2 separate regions of the Homo sapiens genome follow, and region 2 is linked to region 1. Evidence: promoter capture Hi-C in 16 types of primary human blood cells and fetal thymus (Javierre and others, 2016). All regions are on one chromosome and are shown on one strand. The core of a region is centred on a gene start or on the middle of the fragment in contact, and the rest is flanking DNA. Distances in the headings are between cores, read along the strand shown. Region 1 holds the start of NUDT16L1 (nudix hydrolase 16 like 1). Region 2 holds the start of ANKS3 (ankyrin repeat and sterile alpha motif domain containing 3).

The links. The method cuts DNA at HindIII sites, captures the fragments that hold promoters and counts their contacts. A CHiCAGO score of 5 or more calls a contact.
Region 2: the fragment with the promoter of ANKS3 here is called in contact with the fragment with the promoter of NUDT16L1 in region 1 in 4 of 17 cell types (erythroblasts, M1 macrophages, M0 macrophages and 1 more); the score reaches 6.6 in erythroblasts.

Annotation. Positions count from the first base shown.
Region 1 is chr16:4,691,469-4,698,834 of GRCh38, reverse strand. It overlaps NUDT16L1 (nudix hydrolase 16 like 1), which reads right to left and starts at 5,273. Exons shown (of 3, transcript NM_032349.4): 1 at 4,956-5,273; 2 at 4,597-4,857; 3 at 2,991-3,877. The coding sequence starts at 5,108. The coding sequence ends at 3,656. ANKS3 (ankyrin repeat and sterile alpha motif domain containing 3) reads left to right here. Exons shown (of 18, transcript NM_133450.4): 13 at 1-35; 14 at 236-408; 15 at 773-858; 16 at 1,419-1,502; 17 at 1,731-1,818; 18 at 1,939-2,324. The coding sequence ends at 1,807. RefSeq lists enhancers at 3,243-3,743, 4,346-4,853, 4,854-5,361, 5,613-5,702 and silencers at 4,453-4,952, 5,063-5,422. The HindIII fragment of the contact is 13,448 bases long and covers 1-7,366 here.
Region 2 is chr16:4,729,843-4,737,208 of GRCh38, reverse strand. ANKS3 (ankyrin repeat and sterile alpha motif domain containing 3) reads left to right here and starts at 2,938. Exons shown (of 18, transcript NM_133450.4): 1 at 2,938-3,271; 2 at 5,630-5,697; 3 at 7,058-7,229. The coding sequence starts at 7,060. DNAAF8 (dynein axonemal assembly factor 8) reads right to left here and starts at 2,672. Exons shown (of 10, transcript NM_139170.3): 1 at 2,511-2,672; 2 at 566-745. The coding sequence starts at 694. RefSeq lists silencers at 2,813-3,042, 3,093-3,152. The HindIII fragment of the contact is 25,292 bases long and covers 1-7,366 here.

The DNA.
Region 1 (7,366 bases), core at 4,024-6,523:
CTGAGATGCAGGAGCTCGCCATCCAGCTGCACAAGGTGAGTGGCTGGGTGGGGGATGGGGGGGCAGGGTGACACCCGTGAGTTGGCTCCATCTCTGACAGAAAAGGTGGGTGCTGTGTGGAGGGGTCAGGTGGATGCAGTGGGGAGAGGGCCCCACACACAGGACAGGGCCGTGGCCAAGGGTCTGGCTTGACCGGCCACCTCCCAGCCTCCCCGCGCCCCCCACCCCCCTGCAGCGCTGCGAGGAGGTAGAGGCCACGCGGGGCCAGGTGTGTCAGGAGCAGGAGCTGCGCGCCGTGGTGGAGAGCTGCCTGCTGGAGCAGGACCGCGCCCGCGAGGACCTCCAGGCCCGGCTGCGGGAGACGTGGGCCCTGGCCCGGGATGCTGCCCTCGTCCTGGACCAGCTGCGGTGAGTGGCTCTGAGCTGCCCTGGGCTGGGTCTCCAGTGGTCAGCCACCTGGCCCCTGGGCCCCCACACATCCTTTCCTCCTGATTTTGTAACTGAGGGGTGGATTTCAGGGTCTGGAGCCACCCCACCCCCATTTCATCAGGCCCTTCCTTCCTGCAGGCAGACCCAGGCAGGAGTTGGGTCCGGGAATCTGCACCGGTCGCCCTCCTGCTCTTTAGTGCAGCCTCATGGGGCACTGGCCCAGCCCATGAGGGCCAGCTGCAAGGACAGGGCTGAGCCCCTCCCTCCCCTAGAAGGTCTGAGGTGGGGGCTCTGCAGCGGCCAGGCCTCTGCTCTCACCAATATTTGTTTCTGTGTCTGGCAGAGCCTGTCAAGCTGAGCTGTCATCTCGAGTGAGGCAGGACCAGCCCCCTGGTGCAGCCACTCTGGGCCTAGCCGTCCCCCCAGCTGGTAAGAGCAGTGGCCTGACTCCGCACTGGGCAGAGGGGAAGGTGGGGGAGCCCTGAAGCCAGGTTTGACCCAGTGGGCTTGGCCTGGTTCTCCGGCCGGCAGCCACTCTCCCAGGTCCCTGTGTGCACATGATCCCAGAGTCCAAGGAAAAGAGGGGGCCCTGGGGACCCAAGCCCACTTCCTCACCTGTGACAGGAAAACTGCCTATCCCCCAGGGGTAGGAGGTACTCGAGAAAGGCCCTGTGCCTTGGCTGGCTGTGCTGTGCTGAGACCGCCAGTGACTTCTGTAGCCTCCAGCCAGGGCCCAGACCCGGGTCCCCACCGGCAGAGCTTTGCCTTCTCTCGGGCTGACCCGGGCCTCGTAGTGTTTGCTCAGCCTGTGGGAGGAAGGGCACAACAGGGCTTCCCTGCCTCGGCCTTGGGAGGTTGCTTAGACACTGTCAGGCGGGTAGGGAGGTTCTGATCCAAGCAGGTTCTCCTGGTTGCATGGGCTCAGAATAAAGCAGGGCCTGTGGGGACGCAGACCCCCAGCTAACTCGGTCCCTGCACCTGCACCACAGACTCCAAGGGCTGGCAAGCGTCCCTGCAGGCCATGAGCCTCCCCGAGCTCTCGGGAGCCCTGGAGGACCGTGTCCGTGAGATGGGTGAGTCTCCGGGGACCAGACGACTGAGCGCTCCTTTTGTTTCCGAGGGAGGCAAAGGGACCCCTTTCCAGGGAAAGCGGGTTTGTGTCTCTCTACCCCAAGGCTGACCTCGGGGCTGGGGCCATAACGGGTGAGGGGCAGGTCACATCCTGCAGCTGAGACCCCGGGGCAGCACCACCCAGCCCTCCTGAGCCTGGCCGGGAGAGGCTCAAGGTCATCATTCCTCAGGGCAAGCACTGTGCTTAGTGACCCAGAGCCTGGAGAAGCTGCAGGTGCTGAACGGGAAGAAGTGGCGGGAGACCTAGCCTGCGGGCCGGTGAGTGTCTGCCAGCCTGGATCCCGCGTGGTGGGAGCAGCAGGGCCTGTCTGGGCGGCTGCAGGTGTGGGTATGCACCCACCTGTCCCCCTCCCTTCTCACCGGGGCTTTTTCTTTCAGAATCTGACGTTGGGTGATTGGTCCACCCTGAAGCTGTGTGCCAGGGAGTGAGGAGGACAGTGAGCAGGTAGCTGCCATGTGCAGCCCAGGCCCAGTGGGGGCCAGAGGATCAGGCCCCGGGAGCAGCCGGCAGACAGAGGCAAGACGGGGGCTGCGGCCCTGGCTCGGCAGCTCGGGCCAGCACTGAGGCGGGACGAGGGCCTCACCCAGAACCTCGTGGTGAGGCCCAGAGTTCATGGGCTGCCCTGGCCCATACCAGGCAGGGCCCTGGGGGGAAAGTGTATCCATATACACGCACAGGTGCCAACTGAGGTGGGACCTTAGGAATGAGGACTGGGGCACCTGGAAAATGCCATTTTTTGGAAAATAAAATTTAAGAACAGCTAGTGAAGGGCTCAGTTCTGGTCACATGACATGAGGCACTGGCCAATGCAGCAACCCTGACTGCCCTGTCCTCTGCTGTTCAGGGGTGTGTCTTTTGCTCCTGGAGCCCAGACAACTCAAGATAAGGCTTTGAGAGCCAAGAACATCCCCAGCCCGCCGTAGCACAGGGCCTCCCCCGGGACATGCTGCTCTCACACCGAGCTCTGAGATGGAGCTGGGCACACTGCCTCCCTCACCGGGCCAGGCATGGGCTGTGCAAATTTTCTGACGATGCCGCTGGAGTCTTTCCAGATGTGGGGCTGTAGGAGACCACGAGGGATGGCTCTGCTGCTGTCCTTCTGCACAGTAAGCCTGCACTTCTACACCATCCCCTGGAGCTGCTTGCAGACAGTGGGGAATGGTGGGTTTGCAAAGCAAAGCAGGTCAGCCCAGGTGCAGCCAGGGCCACCAGGATCAGGAAGGGGAGCCTGCCCTGAAGGTCTCGGCCCAGACGCCCCAACCTGGCTGATGGGCACAGCATTCATGCTGGGAGTGCCCCCAGTAAACACTGGGGAACAAACGTGCCCCTGGCTGGGGCAGCTCCTCCCTCCCCCACCTAGGGCAGGGGGCCTGAGCTGGTTCCATCCAGAACCAAAACAAACACACAGGGCAGCTGAGAAACACACAGAGCAGCTGCGGAGCGACTTTATTGTCTTCTCCTTCGACAGCTTCGTTGTACATAGCTGGGCCCCCGAGGCCCTGACTGTCCCTGGGAACCAAGCCACGTGGGGTGAAGCTACTTTGAAACCTCACCCACAGTTCACACGTGGTGAAAGAGAAAATCTAGCAAAGTAAATCCAACAACAACCCAAATTAACAGTATTATTAACTTCCTACCCCAAGCTGGCTCTCCCCCAGGCCCTGAACTGGCTCAGGAAGGAGGCAGGAATGAGCTGACCGAGACAAGGCATCCTCCACCCACACATCCCATCTTCTGAGTGGTCCCAGAGCTGTGCGCCACCCCTGTGGGACAATCAGGCACTCCTGGGTCTCTACCAGCTGTGATGAGACGTACAAGAGGAGGGTCTGAGCCCAGAATAAACAAGAGCATCCTGAGGCTGGAGAGGCAGGCCCAGTGTGCCCGGACCACCCTGCTCTGCCTGAGAGGATGGGCTGGGTTCCAGCTGGCCCGGCCGCCACCTAGTGACTGCTTGGGACAGTGGAGATGATGACAGGATGCCCACTCGCCCTAGGCAGTCAGAAGCGGGGTACACACAAACACTCTAGAAGCCACACTTAGCAGGAATTCCCAGTCTTCCGGCCCAGGGGAGGGTGCCACCAGCTCAGGCAGCCCTCAAGAGGAGGCCGGGAGCAACTTCTCCAGGGCCTTCTTCTGCTTCTCGGTGGCTGCAGCCAGGGCCTCAACCAGCTTCTCCTCGGGCATCATGTTGAGCACCTTGAGGGCAAAGAGGAGCTGGCACTTAGCCGTGCTCACGAAGGCGTTGCTCAGGAAGTTGGGGAAGCCTCCGACTCGGTCCTTCTGGGTGTACAGCGGGACCCGCACGAGGCCCAGCACCTGCGCAGACAGGAGGTAGGGGTTGGGGCCAGGCCTGCCACACAATGGCACCTCCAGCAGGAGGGGCCTGGAAGCTATGAGGCCAGGGTATGAGCAGCCAGCTTTGCCAAGGACTTAATGGGAGACCCACGCAGGGCCTGGCAGAAGCCAGCCAGCTCCCTCGGAGCAGTGCAGCCCCCTCCTCCCCAAGCAAGTGTGGAGGCTGACCCCATGCACTCCCCCCCCTCGTACCCAGGCCACCCCACCCCGGGGTCCGCACCCCATGCTCCCCCCGTCCACCCAACGAAGCCTGAACACCCGCAGTCCAGCCCTTCCAGACCACAAAGTACAAATCCCAAGAGCCTTCACGCCCAACATGAGGTTCCCAAGTTTTACAACCCCCGCTGTGCTCAAGTTTCCCAACTCCCCAAGCAATCCCCGCTCCTCCCCCATCCCTTCCTCCCCACCGATCCCACTCCCCCACTCCCAGGATTGGCAATGGCAGGCAGCAAGGCGGATGTAACACAGCCCTGAGGGAGCCCCAGCGCCGGCCCCCACCCCCGCCCCTCCTTTCCCGGCCTCCCAGCCCCAGACCCCTCTCCCCACCCCATTGCTGGAGACAGCGACACCCGACCCAGCCCGGCCAGGGGACCCTCAGGAGACGTGTTACCCATCGGTGCCTTCCACGGGGCCAGAGCCAAACCCCGGGGCGGGGGGCGGGGCCCGGGCGGCGGCCCCACCTCCAGGCCGTGGTCGCGCGAGTGCACCGCGCTGATCTCCACGGCGTGCAGCTGCTCCAGCGTCAGCTGCCGCGCGTACAGGTGCGCCACGACGCGGTGTGGGCCCTCGGTCAGGTGCGAGCTCAGGTAGTCGGCCTCGGTGAGGCGCAGGCAGCCCAGGCCCAGGCCCAGCACCCGGTTCAGGCCGTCCTCCAGCGACCAGAAGCGCCGGTCCACGAAGCCCCCGGGGAAGCCCAGCAGCCCGTCGAAACGCATCTGCATCTGCAAGGGAGCGCGGGTCACAGCCGCGGGGTCGACGGACGCCCCCGCCCGGGCCCGCCCGCGCCGGCACCCTCGCCCGCGCCCTCGCCCGTCCTCACCAGCACCGAGAAGCGCATGGGGATGCGGCCGAAGAGCTGCCCAGGGTTGGCGGCGTACAGCATGGCGTGGCACGAGTGGCTCCAGCCCGGCCCTAGGCGCATCGCCTCCACCCGGCTGATCTGCTTCAGCTCCGGAACCGCCGCCGTCGACATCTTGGCACTGACCCCGTCCCCGCCGCTGCCACTTAAGAGCATGCGCGAGCCCGCCCCCGCCGTGCCTCGCCAATCCGCGGGCGGCCGCGCCCCCGGGTCCGGTTCCCCCGCCAATCGCCGGCGCGCCCCGGGACCGAGCCCCTCGCAGCGCCGCGGTGCGTCGTCGAGAGGTGCTGCGGGCGGTGTGCAAAGGAGGGCGGTGCGCGTCAGCCGTCACCCAATAGTCGCACACCCTGGGCGGCGGCCCCGCCTCCGACGGGAGAGCCTAGACGACTGGTCGGTGCCGTGGTGGCTCAAGGTTGACATTGTGGGCGACGAACATCTTCCTTGGCGCCCCAAAGCGGACAGCCGAAATTCCCTGCGGTTTCTCCACCCTCGATGGCGCCGATCCCCTTGCGCCCACCCGTTTCTCCCCAGGAGGCCGACCCGGCCCGCATGGCCCCGTCCATCCGCAATGGCACCCTTGGCACGACCACACGAGCCAGAGATGCCCCGGAGCCTTGCTCCGCCAGCGCCACCGGACCCAAGCCCGGAGGGAGATGGCCTTCGCCTGCCATGCACGACAGCTGTCCCGACCTAGCCACCCTGCTGGCAGGCTCGATCCAGGACAGCACGGGGAGCAGGGCTTGGCAGGGCTTGAGTGCCCCAGTCCCCGAGTCCACGCTGGGTCAGGGCGGACGACCGGGAGCTCTGGGGCTCTGTGGACCCAGCTTGCTGGGCAGAAAGTGACTTAAATTCCGGGGCTGGACCTTTCCAGCATCCTCCAAGCCGGGCACCCTGTGCCAGGTACTGTGGGGGGAAGAGGGGTTTCCCCAATTTACGATGAGGAACTTGGAGCTCAGAGAGGGACATAACTTGCCTAAGTACAACTGGCAGTTGATGACAGAGGCAGAATCCCGATTCCACAAGGGCCTGAGGTACTTACCACTTACCTTGTGTTTGTACTGGAGATGTCTCTGGGGCTCAGAAGCATCCGAAACAGCCCAAGGCAGAGCGAGGTGCCCTGAACTCCATGATGGCAAGGCTCACCTCACCAGCAGCAGGGCCCAGGGCCACTTTCCTCCCCACCAGGGGAATGGATTTGCTGAGCACATGAACCCCCCTGCCTGCACTCACAGCATGGGTGCCCAGGGCTGGGGCACAGCCTCGGGAGAGCCGTGCAGTGAGGCCGAGCTCGCTGGCACAGAGAAGGCTGCCTTCAGTGGAGGCAGGCAGGAGAAGAGAGAGGGAGAGGGTGGGCATTGGAAACTCACCTGTTAGGTCCGTGGTGGCCTCAGATGTGGAGAATAAGGACCCAGAGAGGGCACCTCTCTCTCCTCCTGTGGCCACCAGTGGGTCAGGGGTCACATGGGACAGCTGCAAGCAGCAGGGGAAGTCCAGATTCCAGAGTGAGCGACCATGTGAGAAGGCGAGAGGGCAGCGAGGGGAAGGGTCCTCTCACCCAAAGAGGGCCCCACCCCTAGGCAGCCAAGCCCAGCCAGCGCCCAGGGCCCGTGGGACGCAGGGGCAGAGGAGGAGAGGCTCCCCTTGCTGCAGCCCCTCCCCGAGACCAGACATCAATACAAGCGCTGGCTCTTCTGGGAGGTACAGAGGGGGAGCCCATCTGGCCCATGCAAGCACCCGTCTGACACCCTGGGCACCCCTCTACCCACACTGGGATGGGGCCAGACCCAGGCAGGTCAGAGCAGCTGCAGGGCCCATGGGTGGCAGCCTTCTCGGGGCAGGGACTGATGGGCTAGAACACGGGCTTTCCCTCCACCCTCACAGTCTTCAAAGAAGGGCCATGGTGGCAGCTTGACCTGCACGCAAAGGAGCTGGGGCCCTGAGTGGTAGGCAGTGGTGTGGTGGGTGCCCTGGGGCACTGGCCACTCCCTGGGCAGGGGAGCGGGGGCTGTGCAGAGGCCTGGGGCCGGGCTCCAGCCTGCGAGCCCACAACCATGGGCAGCTAGACCTGCTCCCACCGTCCGGCCTCCACACGCCAGCCGCAGGGTGCTAGCACTGCTTCTCCGCTTGGAAGCCTGTTTTTAAAACTGACTCCCCCTTATAAAAACACTCCAGCAGCCCCTACAAGCTCTTCAGTATCTATCCAGCACCCTTCACTCCAGCCAGGGGCTCCGTCCCCAGGGGACACATCAGGCTCACTCCTGCCACCTGGAACACTCTTCCAGGGCCAGCTCCTCCTCAGCCCTCAGGGCTGTTTAAGTCTCCTCAGAGAGGCCCTCCCTGCCACCCGGTTAAATGAGACCTTGTACGGGTTC
Region 2 (7,366 bases), core at 1,689-4,188, 41 kb before region 1:
TCATACTGTCTCTTAACGCCCAGTGCCAACCTGTGCACTGAGCAGCCCCCGCCAGGAGCATCTTTAGCAGGGTCTTATGCCTGCACCTAGGGCTATTGGTCTGAGCGTCTTTGAGAGCCATTTCAGGGACCCCAAACCACAAATGCAGAATCCCTCGAAGGCTTATCACAATGCACTGGAATTGTGCATTCTCAGTGGGTGTTCTGGCCCTGTCCTGGCACGAGAGAGTGGAGAATAGCAGAATGGAAAGGACAGAGCTTCTGCATCAAATTGACCTGGGTTCCAAGTCAGCACCAAAAACTCCACTGAAAGGGTCTCCCAAGATGCTGAGCACCAATACCCATGCTCAGAGATGACAATCAAGGCAGAAGAAAGAGTAAAGAAGGAAATAGGCACCCAGAAAACACAACTTTGAGTCTGGCCATGCGATTTAAAGTAAAATGACAACAAACTGCACAGGTCAGCAGGAAAAGTCTTCAGAGAAGTGCTCCAAAGCTGTCCTGGCCAGCGTCATGCCTGCTCTGGTAGGAAGGACAAGGCATCCAGGGAGAGAGTTCTTGCTTACCAAAGGGGAGTCTGAGTCCAGAGACGGGAGCTGGTCTTTGACAGCCTTGAGGATGGCATCCCAGGGCCCCATCTGGGAGGCCCAGGGAGAGCCCAGCGAGGGTGCCATGCCTTTATCGTTGGATGCCATGAGGGCCCAGGCTTCCAGATGCCTTCTCAGTGCACCATAATCCGGGGAGCTCTGTGGGGTACACAGGGTGATGGAAGAGGGTCCGGGCCACTGAAGGTCAGGAGAGCAGGGGCTGCTCTACCAGCTGTAGGAGACCAAACAGGCTGGCAGGCCTCACCACCTGCCTCAGTTTCCTTCTAGTTATGCAAGCTCCTGTTAGTGCCAGGCACTGTGTGTGTACGTGTGTGTGTGTGTTCCCACTCATGCACACATGTGGAGCCTGCAGGTATATAATGTATATAGTGATATATACATAATAATATACAAATATATGTATTGATATAAATATACCTATGTAGATATATGTACATGTTATATAGAATGCCATATGTACGATATATAATGATATATAGGTATATTTTATATATACCCCATATAGCATAACTATTCTCTTCATTTCATAGGCTCAGGGTGTTTAGTAAATAGCAACAGTGGACTCTGAATCAGGGGGAATTTCAAGTCCTACTACCCTTTACTGCCCTTTACCAAGGAACAGAAGACACCTTGCTTTTTTGTTTTGGAGACAGGGTCTGGCTTTGTCGCCCAGGCTAGAGTGCAGTGGTACAATGATAGCTCACTGAAGCCTCGGCCTCCTGAGCTCAAGTGATCCTCCCACCTCAGCCTCCTGAATAACTGGGACTACAGGTGTGTACCACCACATCTGGCTAACATTTTTATTTTTTGTAGAGATGGAGTCTCCCTGTTGCCCAGGCTGGTCTCAAACTCCTGGCCTCAAGTGATCCTCTTGCCTCAGCCTCCCAAAGTGCTGGGATTACAGGCATGTGCCATCGCGCCTGGCTGACAGTTTGGAGTCACTAAGTGATTTTTTTTTTTTTTTGGAGTCACTACTCTGACCAGCCCCTGCATTTATATCTTAGAGTCTTAAAGGAGATGGTCCTGTTATTCAGGGGGCTGGGGAGCTTGAGCTTGAGAGCTGGGGGGTGAGGGTCCTCTAGAGCCAGTGTCAGGAGAACTCTGCAGCTCGAGAGGCCGCTGTGGCTTTGGCCCTGCAGTCAGTGCCCGTTCATCCCCAATCAGGGCAGCGGCAGGAGATGTGAATTGGGGGCTGCTTGCTTCCTCTGTACTTCTGGGAATAGGGCAGGTGCTTGGTGCACTCTGAACTGGGAGCAGCGGGTTGGGGACGCATCTGGTGCACACAGCCAGCGGGTGTTTTTTGTAACTAGAGCTCTGTTCCGCAATTCAGGGCACAGTATTTCTTAGGGCAACAGAATCGTCGGGATGAAGAGGGCCTCCAGAGACTCTGATAAACCCTTCAGGCGGACAAGACAATAGGGGAGGGAACGGCATTACCGGCAGAAGGAAGAGCATGTACAGTAGCTCAAAGGAATGAACCGCCCAACAGGTTTAAGGGAAGAAAGTGTCAGTTGCTGGACTCTCCGGTGAAAACGGACCAGACAATGCAGGGCCCTGAACGCCAAGTTGAGGAGCTCAGAGCATCCAGAAGGCGAAGGGGAGGCTCGGAGCCGCCTCTGAATAACGGCCTTCCGGCTCCGTCTCGGGGTGGGTTTCTCAGCTGCAGCCTGTTAGCCCCGCCACAGCCCCGCCCCGGTTCTCAGAGCCCCGCCCCCAGCCGGCCTGCCACGAGGCTGCCGGTTGTTATGGCAACCAGACGCCAACAGCCTCCCGGGTCGAGCTTTTAAATTTTAAAGCTGTGGAAGTGGAAAGCCCATCGCTCCTCCTCTCACCCACCCCCAGCCCGTATTTCCCCGCGTTTTGTTCAACTCCCTGCAGGCGCAGCAGGCCCGAGGCCCCTCACCTCAGGCCTCTGCCTCCACTCCCCGCGCTGTCCTGACAGCGCTATAAACAGCCTCCAGCGCGTCACTCCGCTCGCGTCCGCCCCTCGGGCCGCGCCGCAGGTACAGAGGCTGTCCCCTTCTTCAGCACTCTCCCTCTCAGCGGAGCTTTACATTACTAGACTGCCTCCGCCTTCCCCCCACCCCGCCCAGCTCCTCTTTCGGGCCTTTGCGCGTCCTGCCTCTCCTGCAATGGGATTGGTTCCCCTGGAGGGCGGGGACGGAGCAGGACAAACACCACTAGCTCATTGGCTACCGCGGGCATCAGACAGCGAGCCGGGAAGCTGACCGGAAGGTCCGGGTGCGGGACGTGTGCATTCCACGGCGCCCGGGAGCTGTCCCGGTGCCGACCCGCGAGCTTCCCGGCGTGCTCCGCGCCCTCCCGCAACTACTTCCGGGGCGGGTGCCGGGGGCGGTGCCCCGGCGAGGGAGCGTGGCGGCGAGCTGTTTGGGGGGGGTTGGCGACGGCAGCCCGAGGGCGGCGCAAGGCCTGAGGCCCAGCACAGGTGGGTTCCGCGGCGGCCCGGCCCCAGCACTTGCCGGCACCTGCAGCCCGCCTAGACCCGGCGCTCGGGCGTCCCGCGCTGCACTTGCTCGCCGCGTGACTGGAGGACCGAGCCCCCACATTTTCTTTATGTGGTTGTGGTGGGGGCACAGTAATGCCCTGTGCGCCGTAGCGTTCCTGTGGGGATGTGGCCGGGGGGCGTCGGGAAGCGTCACTGCTGTGAGTTACGGGTTTGTCGGCCAGGGACCCGCCCCGGGGCCAGTGAGCTACCTTTGCGATGCGGTTCCACGGGGCGAGAGGGGGTGCCTGGGTGCTTTCACAGACCTCCTCTGTGGGCGTGACAGTTACCACCAGCATCACATTTGTTAAGATTTTTAAAAATTTTTTAATTTTTGTGGGTACGTAGTAGGTGTATATATTTATGGCGTATATGAGAGATTTTGATACAGGCATGCAGTTCGTAATAATCACATGTAAAATGGGGGTCTCCATCCCTTCAAGCATTTATCCTTTGTGTTACAAACAATATGATTATACTCTTTGAATTATTTTTAAATGTGCAGCCGGGCGCGGTGGCTCACTCACGCCTGTAATCCTAGCACTTTGGGAGGCAAAGGCGGGCGGATCACCTGAAGTCAAGGATTTGAGACCAGCCTGGCCAACATGGGGACACTTCGTCTCTACTAAACATACGAAAACTAGGCTGGCATGGTGGCTCATACCTGTAATCTCAGCTACTCGGGAAGCTGAGGCAGGAGAATCGCTTGAACCCAGGAGGCGGAGGTTGCATTGAGCCGAGATCACGCCGCTGCACTCTAGCCTGGGTAACAGAGTGAGATTATGTCTCAAAAAAAATAATAATAAATAAATAAAATGTGCAATTAGATTATATTGACTATAGTCACCCTGTTGTGCGGTCAAATACTAGATCTTTTTTTTTTTTTTTTTTTTTTTGAGACGGAGTCTCGCTTTGTCGCCCAGGCTGGAGTGCAGTGGCTTGATCAAATACTAGATCTTATTCATTCTGTTTTTTTTGTATCCATTAAGCATCCCCACCCTCCACTACCCTTCCCAGCCTTGGTTACACTAGAAGTAACCATCCTTCTACTTTCTATGTCCATGAGTTCAGTTGTTTTGATTTTTAGATAACCACAAATAATTGAGAACATGCAATATTTATCTTTCTGTGCCTGGCTTATTTCACTAAACATAACGATCTCCGCTTCCATCCATGTTTTTGCAAATGATAGGATCTCATTCTTTTTTTATGGCTGAATAGTACTCCATTGTGTCTAAGTACCACATTTTCTTTAGGATTCACTGTAAAGGTAACAGATACTTAGCATTTTCAGAATGGACAGAACCAAAAAGTTGAATGAAAACTAAAACGTCTTATCTCTAATGCTACTTTACACCACACCACTCGGGATGGGACATTTTAGTTTTCACTTTAGTGTTTTTTTTTTGTTTTTTTTTTTGAGACAGAATTTCGCTCTGTTGCCCAGGCTGGAGTGCAGTGGCTTGAGCTCGGCTCACTGCAATCGCCTCCCAGGCTCAAGCGATTCTCTTGCCTCAGCCTCCTGAGTACTGAGACTACAGGCGCCCACCACCACACCCAGCTAATTTTTGTAATTTTAGTAAAGATGGGAGTTCACCATTTTGGCCAGGGTGGTCTCGAACTCCTGGCCTCAAGTGGTCCGTCACGCTTGGTCTGGTTCTCATTGTCCTTCAGACCTCTGGGGATGTCAGATATGCAAGTCTCCAGTAAATAGAGAACACGGCCTCACCCTGCAGGAGGCCTTTGGCGTGGAAGAGACATGCCCAGTGAAGGCTTGAGGGAGGTATGGAAGGGACTCTGAACTGACCCTCAGCTCGTTTGGTTTCTTATCCAGGCTTCGTTGGCCAGGGCTGTTAGGGTGGGATTCTCACCTGCAAAGTGAGGGAAGGGCACTGCACGATCTTGGGCTCTGCTAGCTGAAGAGGTGGTGGCTCCAGGAAGGAGGGCTTTGCTTGCCCCACCGCACCTACACACACTCTTCACCAAGGGTCTGTGAAGTGTTCGTCTCCCACATTGGTGGCTTGTTTCTTTAGCCATCTTGGCTGTCACCTGGGGCTTGGAAGCATTCTTTAATAGAAACTGAGGTCCTCATCGCATCTATTAACTACCATAGCACCTGTAGGTCATCACAACCTGACAAGGCCTTTGTTTTCGCCTTTGCTCCCTTTCCTACCCTTGTTTCCTGGCACTCTTGTACCTAAGGATTCTACTAGGAAGCTGATGACCTTGCCTTGATTTGGGGATTCCTGGTGTGCCGTTACCCATGTAGGCCCATCTCGGGGAAAGTGTTACCTCACCAGTTCACCGGCCTGTTATATTTCCCCCCATAGCTCTCTCTTCAAAGGATGCCTAAGTGGATTCCTATTCAGTTGACGGTTGCTGCGTGCCACCAGTCACATCCTGGTTTGTCTGTTGGGGAATTGCTTTCTATTTTTTTCAGAAAAATTTATTTTTACTTTTTTGAAATTTTCAATTTCATAACCATTCCAGAAAAATTAATTTATATTTAAAATTTACAGGCCAGGTGCAGTGGCTCACGCCTATATTTCCAGGACTTTGAGAGGCTGAGGCGGGCGGATCACCTGAGGTGAGGAGTTCGAGACCAGCCTGGCCAACATGGTGAAACCCCCGTCTCTACTAAAAATACAAAAATTAGCCTAACATGATGGCGCACACCTGTAATCTCAGCTATTCAGGTGGCTGAGGCTCAAGAAGCCCTTAAACCCAGGAGGCAGAGGTTCCAGTGAGCTGAAATCATGCCACTGCACTCCAGCCTGGGCAACAGAGCGAGACTGTCTCAAAAAAATAAATAAAATTTACATACAGTAAAATTCATTTTGGTGTTCAGTTCTGTGGTTTCATAAAGGCATGGAGTCACAGATCCACCGTCACAGTCATACAGGTCTATCGTCCCCCAAATTCCCTCTCTGCCCCAACCTCCAACCCTTTAATTTTGCCTTTTCCAGAATGTCATGTAAGTGAAATTATACTGTAGGCAGGCTTCTTCCATTTAGCGTAAATCATTTGAAATTCATTCACGTGTTGCATGTCAACTGTTGGATCCTTGTGTTTAATGCTGAGTAGCATCCATTATATGGATGTGCCACCGTTTGTTTATCCATTCTTTTATGTATCATAATAGCAGCCTTTTTAGATATGTCCCCGTTAGACAGTGAGGCACTAGGGATTGGAGTTGCTAAGTAGCAGAGCTGCTTTTTTGTTGTTTTTTTTTTTTGTTTTGTTTTTGGAGACAAAGTCTTGCTCTGTTTCCCAGGCTGGAGTGCAATGGCGTGATCTTGGCTCACCGCAACCTCCGCCTCCTCAGTTCAAGTGATGCTCCTACCTCAGCCTCCCGAGTAGCTGGCCTTCATGCCCAGCTAATTTTTGTATTTTTAGTAGAGACAGGATTTCACCATGTTGGCCAGGCTGGTCTTGAACTCTTGACCTCAAGTGATCTGCCCACCTTGGCCTCCCAAAGTGCTGGGATTACAGGTGTGAGCCACCGCACCGGGTCCAAGCTGAATTTTGATCAAACCCCAAATCCAGGGTTCTTCCCCACCACATCAAGGAACTGATTGGGTTAAACAACCCAATTAGCATTTCTTCACTGCCCATCCAAGAGGTTGTCAGGTTCCTAGAGTTGGTGGAGAATTCTCTTTTACCTGGTGCCTGCGGTTGGAAGGAGGAGCAGGTACTCCACAGTTAATGCCTCACCATATGTGCTCCTCTTTACTGGTGTGATAGCAGGCTCACCAGATTTAGCATGGTTGGGACTGCCCAAAGCATACATTATTTCAGCAAATAAATTTGTCTGAGTTACTCCCGGGGTTGACTGCACTGGGTTATCAGTCTGCTAGTGCAGTGGTGTAGCAGGGGCAGGACCAGCCTGTTTCATGCCCTGGAACAACCAGCCAGGAAAGATCTAACCCTTGGGCCTTCCTCCTCAGTGATGTCCGAGCTCAGCGATGAAGCCAGCGAGCCGGAACTCCTGAACCGCAGCTTGTCCATGTGGCACGGGCTCGGGACACAGGTCAGCGGGGAGGAGCTGGATGTCCCCCTGGATCTTCACACAGCTGCTTCCATTGGCCAGTATGAAGTGGTGAAGGAGTGTGTGCAGCGGTAAGAGATCTCGGGGAACTTCCTCTCACATTTTGAGCAGCGCAGTGATGGCTTCGATCCCACGTGATGGGGCTTTGCACACAGTTGTGGATGTTTAATGCGTGTAGAATAGGTTAACCTGCTTATCTCAGGCAGCT